7 separate regions of the Homo sapiens genome follow, and regions 1, 2, 3, 5, 6 and 7 are each linked to region 4. Evidence: promoter capture Hi-C in 16 types of primary human blood cells and fetal thymus (Javierre and others, 2016). All regions are on one chromosome and are shown on one strand. Each heading gives the region's core, a stretch centred on a gene start or on the middle of the fragment in contact. The rest is flanking DNA. Distances are from core to core; before and after follow the strand shown.

The links. Contacts are between HindIII fragments. The CHiCAGO score rates a contact against its expected background, and 5 or more counts as called.
Region 1: a contact is called between a fragment that was not itself captured here and the fragment with the promoter of LINC01948 in region 4, in 17 of 17 cell types (total B cells, naive B cells, neutrophils and 14 more). The highest score is 33.7, in total B cells.
Region 2: a contact is called between a fragment that was not itself captured here and the fragment with the promoter of LINC01948 in region 4, in 13 of 17 cell types (naive B cells, neutrophils, total B cells and 10 more). The highest score is 17.7, in naive B cells.
Region 3: a contact is called between a fragment that was not itself captured here and the fragment with the promoter of LINC01948 in region 4, in 15 of 17 cell types (total B cells, naive B cells, neutrophils and 12 more). The highest score is 24.9, in total B cells.
Region 5: a fragment that was not itself captured here is called in contact with the fragment with the promoter of LINC01948 in region 4 in 3 of 17 cell types (naive B cells, total B cells and neutrophils); the score reaches 7.9 in naive B cells.
Region 6: a fragment that was not itself captured here is called in contact with the fragment with the promoter of LINC01948 in region 4 in 1 of 17 cell types (naive B cells); the score reaches 6.1 in naive B cells.
Region 7: a fragment that was not itself captured here is called in contact with the fragment with the promoter of LINC01948 in region 4 in 3 of 17 cell types (naive B cells, neutrophils and total B cells); the score reaches 12.3 in naive B cells.

Annotation. Positions count from the first base shown.
Region 1 is chr5:56,831,830-56,835,113 of GRCh38, reverse strand. All of the region lies in intron 1 of MAP3K1 (mitogen-activated protein kinase kinase kinase 1), which reads right to left. Among named protein-coding and RNA genes, the nearest start is that of MAP3K1, 18 kb to the right of the region's middle. The HindIII fragment of the contact is 8,698 bases long and covers 1-3,284 here.
Region 2 is chr5:56,801,881-56,805,469 of GRCh38, reverse strand. No RefSeq gene overlaps it. Among named protein-coding and RNA genes, the nearest start is that of MAP3K1, 12 kb to the left of the region's middle. The HindIII fragment of the contact is 960 bases long and covers 1,839-2,798 here.
Region 3 is chr5:56,853,120-56,856,517 of GRCh38, reverse strand. The region is part of intron 1 of MAP3K1 (mitogen-activated protein kinase kinase kinase 1); the gene reads right to left. Among named protein-coding and RNA genes, the nearest start is that of MAP3K1, 39 kb to the right of the region's middle. The HindIII fragment of the contact is 3,900 bases long and covers 68-3,398 here.
Region 4 is chr5:56,480,459-56,483,630 of GRCh38, reverse strand. It overlaps LINC01948 (long intergenic non-protein coding RNA 1948), which reads left to right and starts at 1,862. Exons shown (of 5, transcript NR_104664.1): 1 at 1,862-2,078. RefSeq lists an enhancer at 1,934-2,093. The HindIII fragment of the contact is 6,332 bases long and covers 1-3,172 here.
Region 5 is chr5:56,894,575-56,898,013 of GRCh38, reverse strand. It overlaps MAP3K1 (mitogen-activated protein kinase kinase kinase 1), which reads right to left. Exons shown (of 20, transcript NM_005921.2): 20 at 1,862-3,439. It overlaps LOC105378980 (a long non-coding RNA gene), which reads left to right. Exons shown (of 3, transcript XR_948347.4): 3 at 1,434-1,577. Among named protein-coding and RNA genes, the nearest start is that of SETD9, 13 kb to the left of the region's middle. The HindIII fragment of the contact is 1,808 bases long and covers 769-2,576 here.
Region 6 is chr5:56,783,119-56,786,387 of GRCh38, reverse strand. No RefSeq gene overlaps it. Among named protein-coding and RNA genes, the nearest start is that of MAP3K1, 31 kb to the left of the region's middle. The HindIII fragment of the contact is 5,570 bases long and covers 1-3,269 here.
Region 7 is chr5:56,869,916-56,873,327 of GRCh38, reverse strand. MAP3K1 (mitogen-activated protein kinase kinase kinase 1) reads right to left here. Exons shown (of 20, transcript NM_005921.2): 7 at 1,297-1,418; 8 at 606-687; 9 at 323-503. Among named protein-coding and RNA genes, the nearest start is that of SETD9, 38 kb to the left of the region's middle. The HindIII fragment of the contact is 4,014 bases long and covers 1-3,315 here.

The DNA.
Region 1 (3,284 bases), core at 701-3,200, 350 kb before region 4:
CTATCATTCACTTCTCAACCCTTAGCATCTGTGCCAGATTCTAAGCCATCCAAGGTTCAACGGAGCAAAGGTTCCATTGGAGAGAAACACTGGAGGCCATGAAACTTCAAGCCTGCAGGTGGAATTACCACTAATAAGTAATTAACTTGTATAAAATAAGATACTTAATTTTATATCTTATTACTTGTTAAGACTTATTATAATAATATCTAAAATTAAGTATCTTATTTTATACAAGTTATTCTCTTAAAAGCTGTATATAAGTAAAATATACACAACAAAATCATTTTCAGGAGCCTGACACCATCACCCTTATTCTGGCTGGGGTGTCAACTCACATTTTAATTTAAAAGGCTTTCTTAAAGCACAACAATATTTCTCTCATCTTTTTTCTTTCTTTGTTTTGAGATGGAGTCTTGCTCTGTTGCCCAGGCTGGAGTGCAGTGGCATCATCTCAGCTCACTGCAACATCCGCCTCTCGGGTTCAAGTGATTATCCTGCCTCAGCTTCCCGAGTAGCTGGGATTACAGGCACCTGCCACCATGCCCAGCTAATTTTTTGTACAGTACAGACGGGGTTTTACCATGTTGGCCAGGCTGGTCTCGAACTCCTGACCTCATGATCCACCCAAAAGCAAATTAACAGGCAGTATTCAACAAGCTGTCCTCATATCCAGGCATACACATAGAATCCTGTCACATCCAGGTAGAACCTACAACTACTCTTCAGTTTCCTCCAAGAGTTTCTTATGAAATTAGCTACAAGTAATCAATAACTAGCTAGAGAACACAAGAATTAAACTCTCTTTTTATCTCCCCTGGCTCCAGCATTTACCTAGGGCTCACTCAGTTCCTAGCACAGTACATACACATAGGAAAGTATGTCAATAAACAAGTGCTGAGCTAAAGTGACAGTGTTTAAGTTTCCAACCATAAGCAGTTCACATAAAAGACTTATGGGCCAGCAAACTACTACTGAAGAAAAAATAATGGCATGTCAGAGACACAGTTAAGGATAAAGATATTTATCTTGCCTTGAAGGAGATTTCAGTTTTACCTGAGTGACCTTTCTATAAACTAAAAGATAATCTCCTTTGTTGGGAAGGCATAGGGGTCAGGAAGATTACTGAATTCTCTCAGTCACTAAGCTCTTATAATTATCAAAGAAGGTGCCTGCTGAACACAAAATAAAGGCCCCACATGTGACAGGCAGGCATTCGTTAACTTATTTCACTAGTAAAGAACAACCACCAGTAACAGAATAAATGAACAGAAGTCCATCTAGGCATAACTTAATACTAGATGCTGGCCTTAGATATCATCTTTACTCAAATTAAAGGGCATTACCAACCAAGAATAATTAATTCTTTTAATTAAAACACATTAATTAAAAGAATGCTGAAGTGTGAAATAAGCCTAAATTTAAAATAACTGGAAATGAAAACCAGCTTTCCCCGCCCCCGCCAAGGCTCATTTGTAAACAGCTTTAACAAGTGTGTCTTGTTGTAAAGACACACGTTTCAGAATGCCTAAGGTACTGCAGGAAGCTCCCTGGGAGCATGCAGAGAGATACTCAGGTGTGAGCTGAGGCACTGTGGGGGAGGGAGTGTGTGCATAGACAGCAGGAGGTCATGAGTGTTCACTCTCCCCTTACTACTGTGCAAGGCTGCGTAGGCACCAAATGAGAAGCATGTCAGACAGTCTGGGCAGGCACTCTGTGAAGTACTCCAAAAGTGTTAACAATTACTGCTTTTAATGTATGTGCACACCAAGCATATCTCCAATTTTGCTGGCAAAAAAATGTATGTATTAACAAAGTTCAACCATATTTTTCCCTGAAGCCGCGTCTCTTCCCTGGCCTTGTAAAAACACTGAAATTTAAATGTATTTGTGTTTATAACTTGCTTTATTTTAGAAGAACTTCATATAAAAACAAAAAAATCATGGCAGAGCATGGTGGCTCACGCCTGTAATCCCAGCACTTTGGGAGGCTGAGGCAGGCGGATCACAAGGTCAGGAGATCAAGACCATCCTAGCCAACATGGTGAAACCCCATCTCTACTAAAAACACAAAAATTATCTGGGTGCGGTGATGCATGCCTGTAATCCCAGCTACTAGGGAGGCTGAGGCAGGAGAATCACTTGAACCCAGGAGGTGGAGGTTTCAGTGAGCTGAGATAGCCCCACTGCACTCCAGCCTGGTGACAGAGCGAGACTCCGTCTCAAAACAAAAACAAAACAAAACAAAAACTTAAAATGCTTCACTAATGTTTTCTGTATTTTTGGAAGACCTAAATAGATAATTTAATTTAAAAAGTCATCACTACATATGATTTTGACTTCATAATACACTATGTGAAGAATGAATAAAAGCTAAGACAAAGAAATGAATAATTTTTCCAAGATAATAAAATTTGTGCTCTGATTAAACAAACTTACCTCTTGATTTAAAAAAAATATGCAAAGATAATCATAAAGGTTAAGAACGCAGGCTTGAAGTCAAACTGCTAAGGTTCAGTTTCAGGCTTTGCCACCCACTAGCTGTGCTACCACCTTGCCAGGATACCTCACCTCTCACAGTCTCTGATTTCTCATATGTAAAATGGGAATCAAAATTCACAAGGATGATGTAAGACTTAAATGAGACAATTTATATAAGGCATCCAGTGTACCAAGCACAGAGGAAGTTAACTATTATTGCCATTTCAGATAAGTACAGTAGGAGAGTGACAGTGAACTAGGATGATTGAGGCTGGATCCCAGACCCAGCACTGTACTGAAGTAGGAAATCTCTCAACAATGGCTGAACCCCCTTTGCTTGCCACTTTTACTGCTTAGAGTCAGGAGGTTGTCCTTCCGAATTCTAAAATGCTATGACCATAAATCCTAGTATTTTATTTTTACCCTTCTGAAAGGGTAGGTTTTTATATTCATCATCTCATTTGCTCTTCCCAAATTCTCTAAGTATGAAGGGTATCATTATTTCTAATTCATAGATGAGGTCAAACTCAAAAGAGGTTAAATAAAGTAACTTTACTCAAAATCCTGCCAAAGTGTTAGGACAGTAATGGGGAACGGTCTCACAAGCCTGAGCCAGTGCTAACACTTCATCTACCACAATAAGCAGTCAGACAGCAGGTTAAATATCTTTCCACTAAAGACACCTGGCAATTCCCTCTCCAACAGCTAAAAGGGGAAAGAGGAAATCAAATATGCCCACAAGGAATGTCTAGACTCTTGAATTTCAACTGCAATTCAATTAGGTTTTTTACTTTAACAGACACA
Region 2 (3,589 bases), core at 1,069-3,568, 320 kb before region 4:
TTCCTTGCAAATATTAGCTCTTCTCTAGCTGAAATAATATATGGCTGAAACAAACTCAACAGAGTTATTATAGGTTAACTAACCATAATAGGAGTTTAAATTATGCATTTAAAAGTCACTTGTCCTAAATATATGAATCACCTTCAATAACTTTTAACTTTCATTATTTTAAATAGTTTTATTATAATAAGTAAAAACTGTACATGTGAAAACTTAAGGTAAATCTCTAACATATCCAAAGAGACGAAGTTAACTCTGTAAGGTAGTCTTGTGAGATCTAGATGTCCAGGCTCCCTTATGCTGCTGGTAGGTATAGGCTTCTAAAAAATTTAAGATCTCTGACACTTTTTATTAATTGATTTTTTTTTTTTTGAGATGGAGTCTCACTCTGTCACCCAAGCTGGAATGCAGTGGTGGGATCTTGCAAGGCTCACTGCAATCTCTGCTTCCTGGGTTCAAGCTGTTCTCATGCCTCAGCCCCCCAAGTAGCTGGGATTACAAGCATGCGCCACCACACCCAGAGATGGGGTTTCACCATGTTGGCCAAACTGGTCTTGAACTCTTGATCTCAAGTGATCTGCTGCCTCGGCCTCCCAAAGTGCTGGGATTACAGAAATGAGCCACTGTGCCTGGCCTATTTATTGGTCTTGATTTTGTGTTAGCAACTCTCAGTTTTGTCTTGTGTATTTTAGATACTCATGCTGACCTCATATTTTATGTCACCTTTGAACTAGGATCCCAGTATTCCAGTAATAAATTGCAGTTTGGGACCCTTCAGAAAGCTCTCTCTGGAGCTCACCATAATAATGTTTCCTACAAAGATATCATGTCTCTGGATATTTTTCTTTAAAAAATCGTTCTTTGTGATGCCTTTATGGTGAAATTATAACATTTCTTATTTCAGTAGTAAATGTGGTCTTATAAGATACCACAAGTGAGGATGTTGTGGGAAAGCCAAATGATCAATTTCTGAAGAAAGGACAACATGGCTTAGCAGGAAAAGCACCAAAGAGTCAGGAGTTCCAGGCCAGGGCTACCCTTGTCTGTGTCACAGGTGGCAAGTCTCTCCATTACTTCTCTTCACTGGGTCTTAGTGTCTCCATTTTTCTAAGCCGGAATACTCAACTTGGTGATATTTAACATCTAGTCCGTCTCTAACAGTTTATGAAAGTCCGTCACATATAGACAAAGGCCCAAATTCAAATAATACCCATCATTTCCTGGTCCTGTCTTAACATTTCAAGAGCTATAAGGTAGTAGGAAAAGACTTCTGGTATGTTGTTTCCTTGGCACCATATTTGTCGTGTGAAAATCAGAAAGTAATACCTTCATCTGGGTTGGGGGAAGAGGCAACAAAGTATTGGTTTTTATCTTAGGAGAAACTACTGATTTTTTATTGTGGTTTACTTGTGATTTTTAAAAGTGTTTTCTCTTTCACTTACTAATAATCACACATGCAGATGAAAATGGTGACATTTATTTCCTGCCAGACTGAAAACACTTTAAAAAGTGGATAATGTCTGGTATTTGCTAAGGACAAAAGAAACAGTCACCATTGGTAGGAGTTTAATCTGTGTCCCTTGAAAGCAGATCCTGAGATGAGGAAACAGGAGTGAGGGAGGTGAAAACCAGGCCTGGGGGGCCTTATCCAGTTGATTTCCACCGTCATGGACGGTTGGGGCTCAGTCCCTCTGGGCCCATCTGGGGAGCTGTGTGGAAGGTGCCTCACATTATACACTGGAGAAATGGGAGAGGGTAGGGTAACATTTACCCTTCAGCTCCTGTCTTCAGTGGACAAGCTCTGGGCCAGGAGGTGTTACCCTTCCACGTTTCAAGCTTTGTGCCTGTGCAGAAGGCAATCGGCTTACCACTGGCACCTTCACCTGGGGCAGAAGTGAGCCATAACAGGGTGGGGCTAGAGAGAGATGCTGTGGGGCCACAGTGAGCTGCCGCCAGAGCAGAAGTAAAAGGTAGACCAAGAAGATGTGAGGTGCTAAGCTCAAAAAACAAACTGAAAACAACACATGAGATGAGAGAATCTTGGTTTTTGGTTTTAATTTAGTACTGCTCTGCACATCCTAAGACGATACTCATCATTGACTTCCATCTCAAATTACAAAGAAAAATAATTTCTAAGATGAAAAACTAAAAGTATCATTGCAGCAAAAGCTCTAAAACACAGGAAATCTCTGCAGAAAGCCTCCCCCTTCACAAATATTTATTGGCAATTGTGGGATCCATCTGTTGCTTCAGATGATTTAGTGGGCAGAGAATCTGCTGTGCCAACTGTAATAGAACATGGTAATCTGTGGAAGCTGAGACAGAAGCTCTTCACTCTGTTTCGTGGGCTACAGAGCAAGCCATATCCTATCCCAGTCTGAGAGAGGCAAAATAAACTAAGAATGATTTTTCTTTGAGGAGTGCTTCAAATGCTGGTAAAATCACAAGGCTATCTTCTTTATTTCTAAATAGATTAGTATAAAATCCATGAGTATTGTTGTTAGCTCATTAGTATATGTGAAAACATTGGGATGCCAACTCGTTTAAAGGGAAGAAACCATTGGGTTAGGCAAAGTAAGACCATGGAAATACAATTTTTCATGTTATTTTAAATCAATTTTGATATCTCAGAGGTTCCCTAAATTTTGTCTTAATGATTCACCTCCTCCATTAGAAGTAGGATATTGGCAAAATGAGTACAACCTAATTCCAGGAAGATTTAGGTTTTTAAAATTTGTTCAAATATTAACATGTTCAGGGGTGATATTCTATAGAAATGTTATTGGAAATAAAAAGCTTCTGAAATATAAGAACAATCCTAAGCTGATTTGTAAATGGCTATCTTTTTCTAAAAGCAGTTCTTTATCTTCCTGAAACAGCTAACTATATACCAGTACTTAGATTCTGAATTAATGGCTGAGGAGACCTAGGACATTTGCATTTTTCTATTCTCCAACTGCTTTGCAGGCTTGTTGGCTGGGACCAGTGCCCCTCCCTGCAGTTTCAGGCCCAGGCCCAGCTATTCCTATTCATGTGTCAGATGCTAATCATCATCTGGTCTGGCAGAAGGAAGGGGCAGCTCCCAAACTGCCTGGCCCATCGCATACTGGAGCTGTCAGTCTCCTGAGAGGCTGAGCATCTGTTTAGAGTAGCCCCTGCTAACTCAGCTGATTTTTGACCTCTTCGCTTGTATTTCTTCCTTATTCCTTGGATGCTGTTTTCATCTTATTTGAAGGGAAGTATCTCAGCACTTGTCATCCTTCTCATATTAATTTAATCAAGGATGATAATATGAGCTTAGGTAACTGTCAAGAGGCCATTCTTAATAAGAGGATGGCATAAAATTACAATGGGTTGGGTTCTCTCTGAAAGTCTGCAGTTGCCCTTATATACATAGGGAAGTTATTAACATTATTGGATTCACTGCCTTCCTTGACAATGTACACCAAAAAGTCTGGGCTGCTCTGTGAGCTTATTCATATCGCAAAGATTTTAATTCTTTTTATTGCCATTGCAATATTTAATATTCCTTTTATTCTTACTTGCTTCTTCTGTACTTTGCCCAAAATGAGTTGATTATTTTTGAAGG
Region 3 (3,398 bases), core at 768-3,267, 370 kb before region 4:
ATTTTATACTTCCAACGGACATGTAATAAAAAAGATAACTGCTAAAAACCCCAAATGACTTAAAGCTTGAAAAGATTCTGAATTATATACTACTGACATATATCATGCAGACCTATGTTCCACTGTAGTTAACAAAATGAATCCCAAGACATTAAGCACTATATTAACAAATATATTCACTAAGACTGCATTGTTTTTAATTCTACCACCCAAATAACAAATATTTAGAAGGGTGTATTACTACACTTTTATCCCAGGATTTCCAATAAATTAAGTCAATACAGATAGAATCTGGTGGATATGCTGATTTATCTGAAATAAGCTCAATAAATATTTAATAAGTGAAGTGAAACTTAACTACATCATCTATGACCCCAAAACAATTTTTCATAGCCTACATGATTAAATTTTTATTTTCATAGAACAGTGACTTCATAACAAAGCACTTGGGGTACTCTATAAAGAATAAAAATTATCCAGTACAAACATTTGATCTTTACTCCATAAAATGGTGTGGATTTACCAGAATAAAACAATCTCTAAACTAAGAACGTTTGAGAATTAACTCTACAAAGCCTAACAGGCAAAGCATCAAGCTCACGAAAATCACTAATTTTAAAATATACCCATATCCACATGAGCATACATGCATACACGATATGCATAGATTTGAAAACCTGATTTATAAGGATGCAGTTAAAGCAACTGCACCTTGGGATTAGTAACAACTTTAAAAATACTAAGCTAATTTCAGTAACTATTTTGAAAAGTCTTTAAAGCTAGAGAACAGTTTTTCTACACTGATAGGAAAAGGAAATACTCAAGGAAATACCAAAAACAAGAACCTCAAGTTTACTACAAAGACAAATTCAAACTCCTCTAGGAATTTTCCAGCTAATCACAACTATGAAGTACGATCTTCAGAGAATCAGCCAAAGGAAGAAGAAACTACTTAAAAAAAAATATTCACTAGAAAGGAAACGGTTAACCCGTTTCACTGAAGCATCAAGACTGTGAGGAAAGTAGAAGGCAACATATTAAACATCTTTGTATCAGCAACTGGCCTAGACATTTTTAGAAATACAAAGAATACATAACATTTGGTTTGAAACTTGCAAATAGGCATTAAGACCACAGCGTAAAATATTTCCTTACACACACATACACACACAAATACTGTTATATAGAAGCAATATGAGACTTTCAAAAAGTATGAAAAAAGGAGGATTATCTAATTTACTTATATGTGCTTGGCTGCTTTTTATGCTGATTATAAAATATAAATATTAGGGGATGTGTAGAAGAAAGTAAGAGAGGGAGGGAGGAGAAAGAAGGAAAGAGGAAGGGGGGATGGAGAGAAGGGAAGAAGGCAGAGAAGAAAGGAGGAGGAGAAAAAGGAGGAGGGAGAGGAAGGCAGAGAAAGAGAGGTAGGGGTGAAGAACACAGGGGATAAAGTGTCTTCCAAAAAAGTCCATCCTGCTCAGTTGGTATTCCAGGAGGCTCAGCTTTGTAGGCAACTGAATTTATGTGGTGACTGCATAATAAAAATTCACTTCCAAGTCTTTAGTATTAAAAGCGCTTTCCCCCTCCAGTAACAATGTTGCAAGAGGTGGTTTGGTTCCCAGGCTAGTTCCAAAAAATAAGCCTCACAGTGGAACTGCAGTGCATTTTTATACCAGAAACTCCTGCACTCCTAGACCAAGGTGCTTGATAGTCTTTCCTCTGGTCCTAGCTATCTCTCTTCCCCCAAATCTGTTTCAGGAGTATCTCTTCTCTGCTATGGATTTTCAGTTTCTGTTCCTGGCCCTGAGTCAAACACACAAAGGATGTTCCTTGTCTAAACAAATCTTTCTGGATGGCATGGCCTCCTTAAAGTCTAATGTGTCTCTTTCCTTTCCACTTGTTTGAAAATACTGTCATCTTTTAGACCAATTTCTTTTATCATAAATAATAGGGATGAGCATTCTAGTAGCTGAACTTTTACACACATCTGAGATTCTTTTTTAAATTTCGTTTTACCTTATTTATGTTTAAGGACTATGAGATTATTTTTTTCTTTTTTCTTTCTTTTTTTTTTTTTTTTTTGAGATGGAGTTTAGCTCTTGTTGCCCAGACTGGAGTGCAATGGTGCAATAGGCTCACTGGCAACCTCCGCCTCCCAGGTTCAAGTGATTCTCCTGCCTCAGCCTTCCAAGTAGCTAGTATTACAGGCATGTGCCACCACGCCTGGCTAATTTTGTGTTTTTAGTAGAGATGAGGTTTCACCATGTTGGTCAGGCTGGTCTCGAACTCCTGACCTCAGGTGATCCACCCACCTCGGCCTCCCAAAGTGCTGGGATTACACCACATTTGGCCTAAATTATTTCTTTAGAATAAACACCTAGAAATGGAAATGCTGGGTTAAAAATGTACACAAATGAAGACTTTTGATAATATTGTCAAATAATCTTCTAAAAAATATGTCTTCCATTCACACGCCCATCCAGGTCAAGCTGCTCTTAAACCTGCTCTGAACTAGCAACAGGCTCCTAACGAGGCTTCTTTAACTTTGAATCTTACCCAGATTTCACAGTGCAGCCAGGGTTACTTCCTCCATTAAAATGCTCTAGTGGTTCCCCCCGGGCTTAGACTAAAATCCAAAATGTTTAGCCCAACCTAAGTGGCCCTGCACCTCGTGGTCTCACCTCAATTCCTGTCATCAGACCTGCAACCCCCCTTCTTCACTGCCTCAATAACCCCAAGATCTTTCCTACTCAGGGCTTCTGGACAGGCTGCTTCCTTCTCTGTCTACTTTTTACCTAATTTCTACCCACTCTCTAGATTTTCCTCAACTCCTCAGAGACTTTCCCAATTTCAATTAAGAACTCCCAGTTCCATTCTTTCACAGCACTTGTATTTTTCCTTTAACATGGTTAATGCAGTTTGCAAACTGTTCCTCTCTTATGAACTGTAAGCTCCATGAGTGAGGGGACCACGTGTTATCGCCATCTATACACCTAACATCTAAGCATGTCTGGCTCATAATAAGTATGAACATATATTAAGTGAATGATCACTTATTAACTCTGGCAGTCCTACAGCCTTCCCAGTTTTAAATTTTAATGACTATTCTTATTAACTTTTTTTATAATTCTGTATTTAATTAAGACTAAATTTGCAATTTAGATGTTGTTCAGAACAATTTTCACTGTTCCTAAATTAATCTGCAAATATAAACCAAAGTGTTTTTCCTAGTCTCTTTGTAATAATTACATGTCATTAATTTTAAAATGTGTATTTTTTCACATTTTAATATCTGAAATATGAATGCCTCTTGCAATCAAAAGTTATTATAATTTAACTGGCAGGTGTTATTTCCTTCATAGTATATAAAATAATGGTACAACTTACAACCACTG
Region 4 (3,172 bases), core at 613-3,112:
CATCTTTATGTCTATGTGTACCTAATATGTAGCTCCCATATATAAGTGAGAACATGCACTGTTTGGTTTTTCTGCTCCTGCATTAATTTGCTTAGAATAGTGGCTTCCAGCTGCATCCATGTTGCTACAAAGGACATGATTTCCTTCTTTTTTATTGCTGCATAGTATTCCATGGTGTATATGTACCAGTCTTCCATTGACGGACACCTAGGCTGAGTCAATGTCTTTGCTATTGTGAATAATGCTGTGAAGCACATAAAAATGAATGTCTTTTTGGTAAAACGATTTCTTTTCATTTAGATATGTACCAGTAATGGGATTGCTGCTGGGTCGAATGGTAGTTTTGTTTTATTTGAGAAATCTCCAAACTACTTTCCCCAGTGGCTGAATTAATTTACATTCCCACCAGCAATGCCAGCAATGTATATGTGTTCCCTTTTCTCCACAGCCTTGCCAGCATCTGTTGTTTTTTTGACTTTTTAATAATAGTCATTCTGAGTGGTGTGAGATCTCATCGTGGTTTTGATTTGCATTTCTCTGATAATCAGCAATGCTGAGCATCTTTTCACATTTGTTGGCTGCTTGCATGTCTTCTTTTGAGAAGTGTCTGTTCATGTCTTTTGCCCACTTTTTAACAGGGTTGTTTGTGTTTGTGTTTTGCTTGCATAGCTGCTTTCCATGTTCTTTTCTATGTTATCTAGAACTATAATAAAAGTAACTGCCCAGCTCTTTGGGAGGCTGGGGCAGGCGAATCACTTGAGGTCAGGAGTTCAAGGGTAGCCTGGCCAATATGGTGAAACCCTGTCTCTATTAAAAATACAAAAATTAGCCGAGTGTGGTGGCACACACCTGGATTCCCAGCTACTCAGGAGGCTGAGGCAGGAGAATTACTTGAACCCCCAAGGCGGAGGTTGCAGTGAGCCCAGATCGCACCACTGTACTCCAGCCTGGGAGACAGAGTGAGACAGCGTCTCAAAAAAACAAAAAAAAAGGAACTAGGTCTAAGACAGGGTACCCAATCTATTTCTAAGAAGATGCTACTTCTCATTTTCTGGAAACACTGTAGCAAAGAGGAAGGGACAATAATGTCCCATAGTGGGTGGGCAGATATAAAAACCCCAAGATGTTCATTTCAGGCCCAAAGTGACTACTGCTTGCTACCCTCACCTTTCTCTGCTGGAACACTACCAGCCCCTGTGAGATGTGGGTGATCTCATGGGTGTTTGGAAGAATCCCAGTACCAGGCTAGGGGATCATCAAAGCTGACTGGATCAGTCCTGCTAGATCAGGAAGCCTTACTGAGTAAGGCTAATGCCAGGTCTCCAAACTGCCACTGAGCATCAGGGGTCCTTCCCACAATATCTTTGTTTCTCTAGGTCAAGAAATGATGCCGTCCCTAGAAACAGCGCAATGTTTATGTAAGAGTCAACTCAGAGACCTTGTGCCGGTACAAGAGGTACTATCTCATCCTGCTCCCCTGCAGGCACTAAATGAGACAAAATTCCTTCTGGAGTTCAAGTCCAGAAGGCTGACTATGCTGTTAATGGCAGTATACTGAGTTAAGAGAATTCGGGGAGACGGGAATATTGGGTCCACGATTCTGCCTGGAGGGAAGAATTGTGGTCTCCTCAGTCCTGTGGAGTAGGGGTCCGGGCTGATGATAGCGCCTCCTGGTGCAGAGTATACAAACAGCTGAAGATCTGCCTGGACCCCCTACCCCTCTCTTTTTTCCTTGTGGAAACTGTGTATAATTTGGAAAGAGCAAGGACATCCTGGCTCGCAGCTGGCCAGCTCCACCTGCGACCTGGACAGCCTCGCCCCTCCCTGCGGAGCCAGGCGAGTTCACAGGGCTGCCTCCGCTTCTTGCAGCATGTCTGCTCTCCTGGCCTGGCCTCTCCAGACCTTTCCCTCCACGGGCAGCGATTTCCAAGGCTCTCAAGACTCCAAACCACGTCGTTTTGGGAGTGAAAAAGTGAAAGCACACATCGTGTCATTAGAGCAGCAGGGACCAGCTGCTGGGTCAACACTTCCGAAAACAGCGCTTCCTGGGGAGCGACCGGAGCATCTCAGAATCTACGGTTTGACCTCCTGCCAATTCTCATGGTGTCTTTATACATTTTAACACAAAAATAAGATGTTTTCACTTGAGAGCGAGAGGGAAATGAACTGTTAAGGTGCTCTGTCGCCAGAGAAGTGAAGTTGGGGGGTAAATTTTAGGAACCCCCGACCCCCCTACCGAGGGAGGATGCGAAGTCGGCTCCTGAAACGCGAGCGAAACCCCCGCGCGCTTCCCGGGGTGACGCACATGTCTGTGTTTCTTTTTGCTTTTGACCAAAAGTCGTAGGGAGGGTCCTCCTCAGGGGACAGTCGCGGGCGCTGTGCCAGTCCTTCCTGTCCCCCCACCAAAGTCAACCCCAGCCCCAGGCCAAGGCCGCCCCGGCCGGAAGAGCCAGCTGGTGGGGGCCGTGGGGGGCGCGGCGGGCGCGCGGGGCTGGGGGCGGCGGGTCCGCCTACCCCGCCTTCCTGGCGTGGAGAGTTTCGGCCCCAGCCTCGCTGGCGTGGACTCTGCCTGAACCACGCCTGGGATGCTTTTGCCAAAGGAAACTTGGGGGGTGGGGGCGGGGCGGGCGACGATTCCCCCCCTCCCCACCCCGCCCCTGTCCTCCTCGGCCGGGAGCCGCGCTGGGCCGGGGTCAGCTGGCTGCCTTTGTGGCCGCTTCCCAGGAAGGAAGAAGCGTTGTCTGCAGATCAGTTGATCCGCGGGCTTTCCTGTGTCGGAATGCCGCCGTTTTCCGGGGACGGCTGCCACCCCCGTGATTCCCAGCCGGGGCTGCCGGCCGTGCGTAAGAGCCGGATAAATAGGCCATTGTGAGGCCGTTCAGATCTAGGTTTCTTATCACAGTATCCACCAGCGAGAAGCAGATTCGGCCCCTGATGGAGCTCATCCCAGCTTCTCTTTTCTTTCTCTGCACAGTTACAGCCATTTCTATTTTTTGCAGTTGTAAAGGGAATATTCAGAAAGCAATTTATTGTGTGCGACAGGGACTTAAGGGAGCGTGTCTGCAGACCGTGTTCCCACCGGGGTTGGGGTTCGCAACCTTGAGTTTAGCTCGATGGGCTTTGGTGTGTGAGGTTTCTACCCGCCCATCGCCCAAGGCAGGCACGTCCTTAA
Region 5 (3,439 bases), core at 423-2,922, 410 kb before region 4:
TATAACAAATGACTTACATCAGCTCATAAATGCAATCATTGGCATTTCTATGAGCACAATACCCCAACATTTTTCTGGATTCTGACATGAAGACTGTCACCCATTTTATAAAATTATTAATATCATTTAAATAGAATTAAGGAGCAATAGAATTGGTTCTATTACTTCATCTGGAAAAAAAACTTTTCTCCAACTTAATATTTTTAAGTGACAGAAATGTACCCTTTTGCAAAAAATACCCAAAACCTATTTAAAAGACTTACATTTAAAATCAAATTATACTTTGGGAGGCCGAGGCAGGTGGTTCACCTGAGGTCAGGAATTCGAGACCAGCCTGGCCAACATGGTGAAACCTTGTCTCTACTAAAAATACAAGAATTAGACAGGCATGGTGGTGTCCACCTGTAATCCCAGCTACTCGGGAGGCTGAGGCAGGAGCATCCTTTGAACCTGGGAGGCAGAGCCTTTAGTGAGCTGAGATTGTGCCACTGCACTTCAACGTGGACAACAGAGTGAGACTGTCTCAAAAAAAAAAAAAAAAAAAAAAACAAAAAAAACAACAAATCAAATTATACAGAAACTTGAAACCAATGTAGAGAAACAAAATGGCTTCTGAACTCAGCAACATTAACCATTTTGCATGGAGATCGGTTACATGGGGGAGGGACATGAGGAAGAATTAAGCAAGTAAGTCAATATGTTGGGAATAATCAGTCATGATTCTCACTGCCTGAGAAGAAAGTTACAAATTTGGAAAAAGGGAAAGCTTGAATGAACCCTGTTGGTGTTGGATTGCAGTTGGAAGGTTGGTGTGAGCTCATGGTTTTTATGTATGTAGGTAGGTATATGTATGCGTACTTTGCAAGTGTGCACCGAACTGTGCATATTCATAAATACATTCTAGCTCTACCAAGACAGCCAAGGAGTGGTGACATCCAGTAGAATTGAGCCTATCTAGCACCCAGATGTTGGTTTTAAACATACCATTCTCTATCAAAGGAATCAGGGCTCTTTGGGAAAATGGCTGATTCCAGGGCCAAAGGAGACATTGCGTAAGATGGGGCTGAAAGTATGGAAGTGTTCAAAGAATAATGGTGGCTTGCCAAGGATAGAGAAGCTAGCTCTCAGACATTCCCACTGGGCAAATCCGCAACAAGTTGAGCAAATATATGATGATACATGATAAATAAATGGGAGAAGGGAAAGCTCTTCTTTGCAGCAAAATGTTGCAAAGAAAAAGTGAAGGAACTACATCACCATTTGGCAACCATCAGAGTAATATATTCAGGCAAAAAAGCTAAGAGCAGAGTTAAAACTGGGCAAGAAACATCATATTTATGTAGTCTCTAATATCACCCCCAAAGAATACTTCCAATTATAAAGGTGGATTTTAATTATAAAAGGAAAGACTAACTATACAGTGTTACTATCAGTTATCACCAGTGATGGGGCAAACGACCTCTATGCCTCCTGACATGACACACCGAGAGGAGCACAGCATCACCTCTGTGATGTTCCTGCCAAAAGTGCATACTCTGAATCTAATCAAGAAGCAGCACCAGACAAACTCAATTTGAAGAGCTTCTATAAAACAATAATCTGAAATCTTTAAAAAATTAAGGCCATTAAGGTCAAGGAAGAACTAAGGAATGGCCCTGGATTCAATGAGACTGAAGAAACATGACAACTGAGAGCAACATGTGATCCTGGTTTGGATCCTCTTGCTATAAAGGACATAAATGGGCAGCTGGTGAAACCTGACTGGGGTCTTTGGGTGAAGGGTATACAGAAGTTCTCTGTGGTATTCTTGCAACTTTTATATAAGTATGAAATTATTTCAAAATAAATAAAAGTAACAACATTTGTTCAAAAACTTTTATTTACTATAAAGACAAAAACACCAAAATAGGTACAAATACTATAAAATCGGTTCAATGGGGTAAAAATTTTAATTAAAATATCTCAATATATTTAAAATAACAAAGGATACATTTAAGCCAAATTTTCTTAACCCAGAGATTTTTTTTTTTTTTTTTTGTAACATTTGCTTACACAGTAAGGTGCTAATAGAAGTTAGCCCTTAAGCCCTGGAAATCTTAGGAATCATAGTCACACAGCAAATATAATTTCATTGTGAAAGTGAACTTTGGTAGAAGAAAAATCTATAGGACACCTGAGGTAGTAGAAACTGGAATAAACAGTAGTAGACGTTATTTACAACTTGAGTACCAAATAACATTAAGAACACAAAAATAATTACACGATACAATTTCCAGTCCAGCTTTGATCCAAAGAAAATAAGAATATTACATCACATTTGCATTGAAAACAAAACAAAAAACAAAACACCACAATTACCAGCAAGCTGAGGGAACTGCAAACAAACTCAAACACAATGGATTTTGAAATCTACAGATAGTTTGAGTTTGAAATGTGGTGGGCATGGTGATCTACAAAGTAATACTGATTAGCTGAGGTTCCTCAGTTTATACAGTTTACATTTTTGTCAGACACAGTATTCATCTGACCAATGATCTTCCAGTACATAAAATGGCAAGAGTGCATCCTTTAAAGCTTGCACATGAGAGACTTGGAAACAATCTTATTAGAATTGTGAAAATTCTAAGTAGTCAAAAAAAAAAAAAAACAAAATAAAAAAGAAAGTCAAGTACAACACATTTAGAGATACCAAACTTCACATTTCTGTACTATTTTTAACTCTTCAAATATCGCCAATCTTCCAAAACAAAGGAATGTAAAATTTCACTAAGAAACATATTCACATAAAAAACAAACTGCCTTTTAAAAATTGTAAGCAATATATCCCTGTAAACTTATCTTGTAACTTATTTTATTTCCAATTTGTGTTGTACATTTTAAATGTACTCTATATATAGCTTATTTAGTTTATCCTGAGTCTTTGAGAATAACCAATTCTATTTCACACTGGCTTCTGAAGAGTTAAAACTAAAATCTCAAAGTTGTACTTAATAGTTAATCAGTACTTGATTTAAAAGACTCACACACACACAAAAAGATTAAAAAGCTACCATTTTCCTTCAGGATTCCATGCATCTGAATTTAACTCCAGACTAAAACCGTTAGGTAACTGTGCAAAATCCAAGGAATTAGTGTATAAATGAAATTCAATTCCATTTTTCTTTCTGAACACATTTTCCAAGTTCAAAGCAAATGTACTGTTTAAAAACATTACTGATTGGTAGTTGAATAATCTTTTTAAAAAATGATCTGCCAGGCCTACTGTAAAGAGATGATGCATGGTAAAAGGAAAATGGCAGCTCTATGTTACTACCAGTAGTGAAGGTGAATGATGGATTGTTACATACAGAGTAAGACTTAAATGTTGTGAAGTTTCCTACAGTTTGACAACCAAAACATCTAAAAAATTCAAATAAATTTTAAGGTAATCTTGATCTTG
Region 6 (3,269 bases), core at 374-2,873, 300 kb before region 4:
TATCTGTTCTTACTCTTTGCCTGTTTTTAAAAAATAGTTGTCTTCATGTTGATTTGTAGGATTTTAAGAAATTTATGCTAGGGATACTAGATTTTGAGAACTTTACATTGCATGTGTGTTCTCTTAGTATGTGATTTGTCTTTTAATTTTTTGTATGATGTCTCTTGTTGCCTAAACACTTAATTTTAGTGCAGTCAAATGTTTTATGTTTATTATTTATATTTATATATCTTTTTTTGTTGTTGTTTTTTGAGACAGAGTCTTGCTTTGTCACTCAGGCTGTAGTGCAGTGGTACAATCTCAGCTCACTGCAACTTTTGCTTCCCAGGTTCAAACGATTCTGGTGCCTCAGCCTCCCGAGTAGCTGGGATTACAGGCGCCCGCCATCACGCCTGGCTAATTTTTGTATTTTTAGTAGAGATGGGGTTCCGCCATGTTGGCCACGCTGGTCTCCAACCCCTGACCGCAAATGATCTGCCCGCCTTGGCCTCCCAAAGTGCTGGGATTACAGGCGTGAGCCACTGCGCCTGGCCCTATTTATACTTATATTTTTAATCAGCATAGATTTAAACGTGTAATATTGTGAGGTAAGCCCTAATTTATTGTTCCTGATTTAATACGGCCTAATTTACTGTTCCATATGGATTGCTAGTTAGAATAGTATACCCCTTCCTCCACTGATTGAGAGTTATCGTTACTGTGCTCTATAGAGACTGCAGTGGTTCTAACATTGTAACATATATCAGAATCACCTGAGGACTTGTTAAAAATGTAGATTTCTTGCCTCCACCCCAAGTTTTTGATTCAGTAGGTCTTGGGCTTGGGTGTGGTCTGAAAATTTGTTTCTCCAATAAATTCCCAGGGATGCTGATGCTGCTTGTCCTAGGACCACACTTTCAGAACCAGAGGAACCAACATGTTTTGTTAATATCTCTTGACATCAATGCCTTGAGGAAACTTAAATTTAAGCCTATTTTATAGATGAGGAACCTGGTGAGGCAATCAATTAGGTGATTTTCCAAGGTTTGTACTAACAAGTTAGAATTGGAGACTGCTGGCCGGGCACGGTGGTGCACACCTGTAATCCCAGAACTTTGGGAGGCTGAGGAGGGCAAATCACCAGGTCAGGAGTTCAAGACGAGCCTGAACAACATGGTGAAATCCCGTCTCTACTAAAAATACAAAAATTAGCCAGGCGTGGTTGCACACACTTGTAGTCCCAGCTATTCAGGAGGCTGAGGCAGGAGAATCACTTGAAACTGGGAGGCAGAGGTTGCAGTGAGCTGAGATGCACCACTGCACTTCAGCCTGGGCGACAAAGACAGACTCTGTCTCAAAATAAATAAATAAATAAATAAATAAATAAATAAATAAATAATTGAAGACTGCCGTAATTTCTTTACTTGGTTTTGTTTCCTACAACATGTAACTAGTATTAAATCATAACAAGATTTAAATTTTTTAAGAAAACACCAGTTTTTTCTTTACTTGAAAATTATATCTTTACGTATTTGGTTCTATCTCTTAAAAATAACTATTTCAAATGACGGTTGTCTGGCCTTAGGTAACATGACAAATAGAATGCATAAAATGAATACAAAGGTCGAATGTAAACATTATTGGAAAACAAATTGAAGTACTATGTTCATTAAATAGAAAAGGATAATAAACGGAAGTCTTATGGTCTATCTAAAGTCAAATAACTCAATCATAAAAGGATTAGTCATAGACTATGTGCTAAGTAAATCTTTATTTAACAACTACTTATCTTATTAAATCTCTTTGTTTTAGTCAGATACGTGGTAAGTGCGATATCATCATGGGCTCTTTCCCTAGGTCTTGCTACTCAGGAGGTGGCTTGAGGACTAGCTGTGTAGACATCACCTGTGAGCTCATCAAACTGCAGAATCTCGGGCCCCACCCCAGACCTCCTGAATCAGAATCTGCTTTTTAACATCCGCAGTTGGTTCAAATGCACATTAAAGTCTGAAAGTTCTGAGATTCTGCATTTCTAAGATGCTCTTAGGTGATGTCGATGCTGTGTTGAGGGTCCTCTTAACTACACTTAATGTGGCAGAACTCTGCCCTCCTCTCTACTCATTAAAACAAACAATATCTTTAAAGAATACTAACTTTGCTAAGTAGTTTAATAGTGAATCCCTTCAGTAAAGATTTATGGACACTACAGTGGATATTATCCCGAAGAGAGAAAAATAAAGACAAGACAGGCACAGCTCTCAGAGTGAAATAACAAGTTTGGTAGTCAGTGTTATAGAACAATGGTAATTGTATCTGATTGCTAAAAGAAAGTCCCAAAGAACAACACTAATCAGCTGAAATATAGTTATAACAAAGGAAGTCCAGAATTTGACTTCTATAGAACTGTTTTCCATTTGACAGAATATAAAGCAATGGAAAACAGATAAAATTATACATTATTTAGATGAAACCTATCACATTACATTGAGTACATCATTAGACTTGTAAAAGCAATTCTGCAGTTACTGTTTTGATTCAGAGGCTTTTGTATCTTAAGCTACACTAAGTACAGAAGCAATTGGTATGAAATATATACACTTTTTTTTTTTTTGAGACAAGGTTTTGCTCTATTGCCCAGGCTGGAGTGCTAGAGTGCAGTGGCATGATCTCTGCTCACTGCAGCCTCCACCTCCTGGGCTTAAGCAAGATACACATTTTAATAGAATGTGTATTTGAATCAAAGTGCCTTGAAGTTTTTCCAGCTTCAAATATAGGAGGAAACTTTTCAAGGTTTAGTTCCCATATCTCAGCGCTGATTTGTGCCACTCAAAATGAATAAAACATAGACTCTTGGTTTGAGTATAAACGTCCAACAGTCTTACAGTCTGGGTAGTTTGTGTTGTGACAAAGCATATTACTAATGCAACTGTTACCACATACAGTGGATTAAGACTGGATTAAAACCTGGATTCCACTTCAGAAAAGGCAAGTCTATTATCCATTCATTCATTCACTCATCTTTTTCTTCCCCTGGAGGTATCCAGGCTACATTTGTAATGAACTAGGTTTCCTGTTGATGCCAGAGCATAAGGCAGATTCTCTTTTTGTTTTGTTCTTTTTATGAGATAAAACACAAATTCCTGACAAGACGTATTATTTCCATAAACAACATTCCTTTCTTTTTCACCTTTTTTGGTTTCTGCAGGGTTTGAAATGCTCATGAGTGGGATAGTATTTCCTCCCTGAAAAGGCTTGGATAACATCAAGAGATAATTTTTTTTCTATATGTT
Region 7 (3,412 bases), core at 59-2,558, 390 kb before region 4:
TTAAACATTGGGAAAAGTTAGCATTGAAGGGTTCTGGTTTCTATCCTTCTATCCTTGAATAACCCCGTATGTCCGTTAGTTCAGGAAGAGATGTTTCTAGATATGTGAAGTGAAACCACAAGAAGTTTTGAAGTTGAAGCTGTACAATAAGCAGTATAGTATTAATACCAAAAGTAACATTAAAATTTCCAGTGGAATGAAGGTCATGATGGAGGCAAGTAAAAGTGTTTTTTTAAATTATGAACAACTGAGGGAAGGAGACAAATACATTAATTGATCTATAAATATTTCTTTGAGAAATGAAAAACAAAGAACTACTTACCTGAATCCATGGCTCAGCTAAATCTTTGTAAGCAGGAGGGATTTGCTGAGTTCCATAATGAGTAAGGTTAAAATTGCTCTCTTGATTCCTTCGTGATCCAGCCAAAGGCTGCTGCTGTACGGTTTGCTGCTGTGCAGCTCTGAGGGAAGAAGGGGAATCCACAGGACTTGACAACTCGTGGCTAAAATGAAAAATAACAAAACTTGCTTTAAAAAAATTAAGACAAACCACACTGAGAAATTTTTAAAAATTAAACATATCCGTATCATTTCAAAATTATTACCTGTAGAAATCATGAGATCTCCACTTAGATCTACAAAGGGGACATATTAAAGGTTCTCTATTTCTTCTACACTCTTCTGCCCCTGAAAAATTACAGAAACAAAATCTTACAAAAATGTAAATGTTTAACATTATTTTTATTTCATAACTGTTTATAATTATAGAATTTATATAGAAGGAACCTCAAAAATAATCTAATTAAATGTTTATCTGAAAGCAAGTAAACACAGCAGGTTAAATGATTTTGATTTGCAAATGCTATTTTATTCATTCTGATAACATGTACTCTGCTTACTATTTTTCAAAACATTCTGCCCTGTTTGACTACCAGGTAAAGTCCTTCCAAACCTTACTTTGATGCTAGCCTTTCTGTAATGCCTGCCCAGGTCTTCTTCCACCTCCTTCCCTTCATGTATACCTTCCAGATTGAAATTGTTTCTAATTCTGTGCACTTCTTCCATTATCACATATGTCACACACACTTTATTGCATTTCTTTGCTCACACAGGTCATCTCCTAAAGATCCTACATTCCCATTTGTTGAAAACTTTTCACATAGGACTTAGGACTTAGATATACTTTTTTTATTCTCTCACCAATTTCCCCTCAAGCCATGTTACACTCTTAAATAACATAGTTAGCTCAGAGAGCAACTGTGTTGAGTAAGCATAGGGAGAAAAAGAGCCACATACAAATTGACATGCAGTGGTGGTGCAGCTTGTTCCTGCAGCCGTCTTCACACACTGTAAGACTTTCTTCATCAAGCATGCCCAACAAGCAAATAGGACACATCTGTTCCTCTTCATCCTTTATGCTATAGAAAAGGGGAAGAAAAAGTATTAAGCATAAAAGAATATAAAGTAGAACGGATATGCTAAAAACACTTTCTGCTTGCTTAGAATATAAATACATTAGAAATTCTTAAGAGCATCTTATATAACTAAGAGATACATATTTACACTATTAATATACAGTAATTTAAAATCAGATTAACACACGAGTATTTATAGATTGTAGGTGTGAGTTAACCTTCTTTGCTATGAAAACAATTCAATACACAGACTGCAATCTTAGAAAGAAACATTTGTATCCCCCAAATTCTGCTACTGTACCTTTTGAATAGACCAACAGGTTTGACTATGTATAAAAATACACTACATGGTACCAGTTTCAAGATTTTAAGTACTGGCGGACCTTAGAGCTCAAAGATTCCACATCCTAAATTTAAATGCCTATTTCAGAAATTTCTGGTGGCAGTATGAACTGATCCAACTTTCCCAGAAATGAATCTAGGAACACATCACATTTTAAGTGTACACAATCTTTCACCTAGACTTCTAGGAATGTATCGTAAGAAAATAAAAAGATAAATATATAGAGATATATGTATGAAAATGTCCACTGCAATATTATTTAGAATAACGAAAAGAAATCAAAACAACCAAATGAATGCCAAAAAGAGGCTAAACAAATTATGGCAAACCCAGACACCTTGAAGCCTTTAAAAAGGAACAGAGAAATCCATAAATGAGGTCAAAATAAAACTACCATGTATAGGATGATTCCATTTATGGCAAAATCGCAACATAATGGTTAATTATATTGCATATACTTGAGTATTTCTAACATACAAAGTACTTTTAAAAATCAGTTAGAAAAATACTAATAAATAGTACAATGGACAAAGGAAATAAAAAGGCAATTGGAATAAAAAATAATAGATTGGTAACATCTGGCCCTGATAATGGCACAGAAAACCAGGTTCTCATATAGACTGCTGGTAGGAGTAAAAACTAAAATCTCTGGAAGGAAATTTTGTTAGTATTTCTTAAAATACTACATGGTATATATTCATGACCTAAAAATCCTATTTTCTAGGATGTTATCGCTACATATTTTAAGTATGTAAACCAAAAAGTGGAGATGTACTTAATGTACATTAATTAAGGCAATGGCTAAATAAATTATGGTGTACCAACATAATCTTATACAGCCATGAAAAGAAAAAAGTATGTAATTTGGTGATGATGTGGAAAAATATTCTTGATATATAAAGTAAAAGTAAAAGAAAACTGCACACCAGAACATATGGCATGACTTTGTATTTGTTTAAAAACAGTAAGAAAGTTGAGAGAAACATGGATGGGGGAACGTGCGTGCATGTGTTTGCTGAAGTACGAAGTGTGCAAAGAAGAGTTTCATTCCTTGATTTATGTAATTTTTAAAAGTTGTATGAAATAGTTAACAGTAGTTATTTTGTGTGCAGCCAGGCTAAAGAGGGCTTTAGTTTTCTATTTCATAAATGTTTTTATTTAAACCTTCATGATGTGAGGGATGGCTTTTAAAATCAATAGCCGTATTTTCATTATAATATAAAGACAAGGCTCTGGGATGTTAAATAAGTTGCCTCAAATCATAAAATCAGTTTGTGGCAGATCTATCATTACACTTTTATCTGAGAAGAATATGCCATAAACTTACAACATCTATAAATTTCAGAGTCTGCTAAGCTAGGCCCAATATTGCACTTCTACTATCTTAAACTATTAGGTTGGTGCAAAAGTAATTGCGGTTTTTGCCATTACTTCTAATTTTTTTAATTCTAATTTTGCCATTAGAAGTAATGGCAAAAACAGTAACTACTTTTCCCTGAAAAACAGATCTGAGTAACTACCAGCAAAATAACCAGTTCCCCAAATGCACAAAAAGCTTTCCAAAAAGCTAGTCAAACAAGTCAGCAAAGTCATAATGCGTGATTCCTGTGATGAAGGCACACTTACTAGTCTGTCCCTCCTGATGTACCTGCCC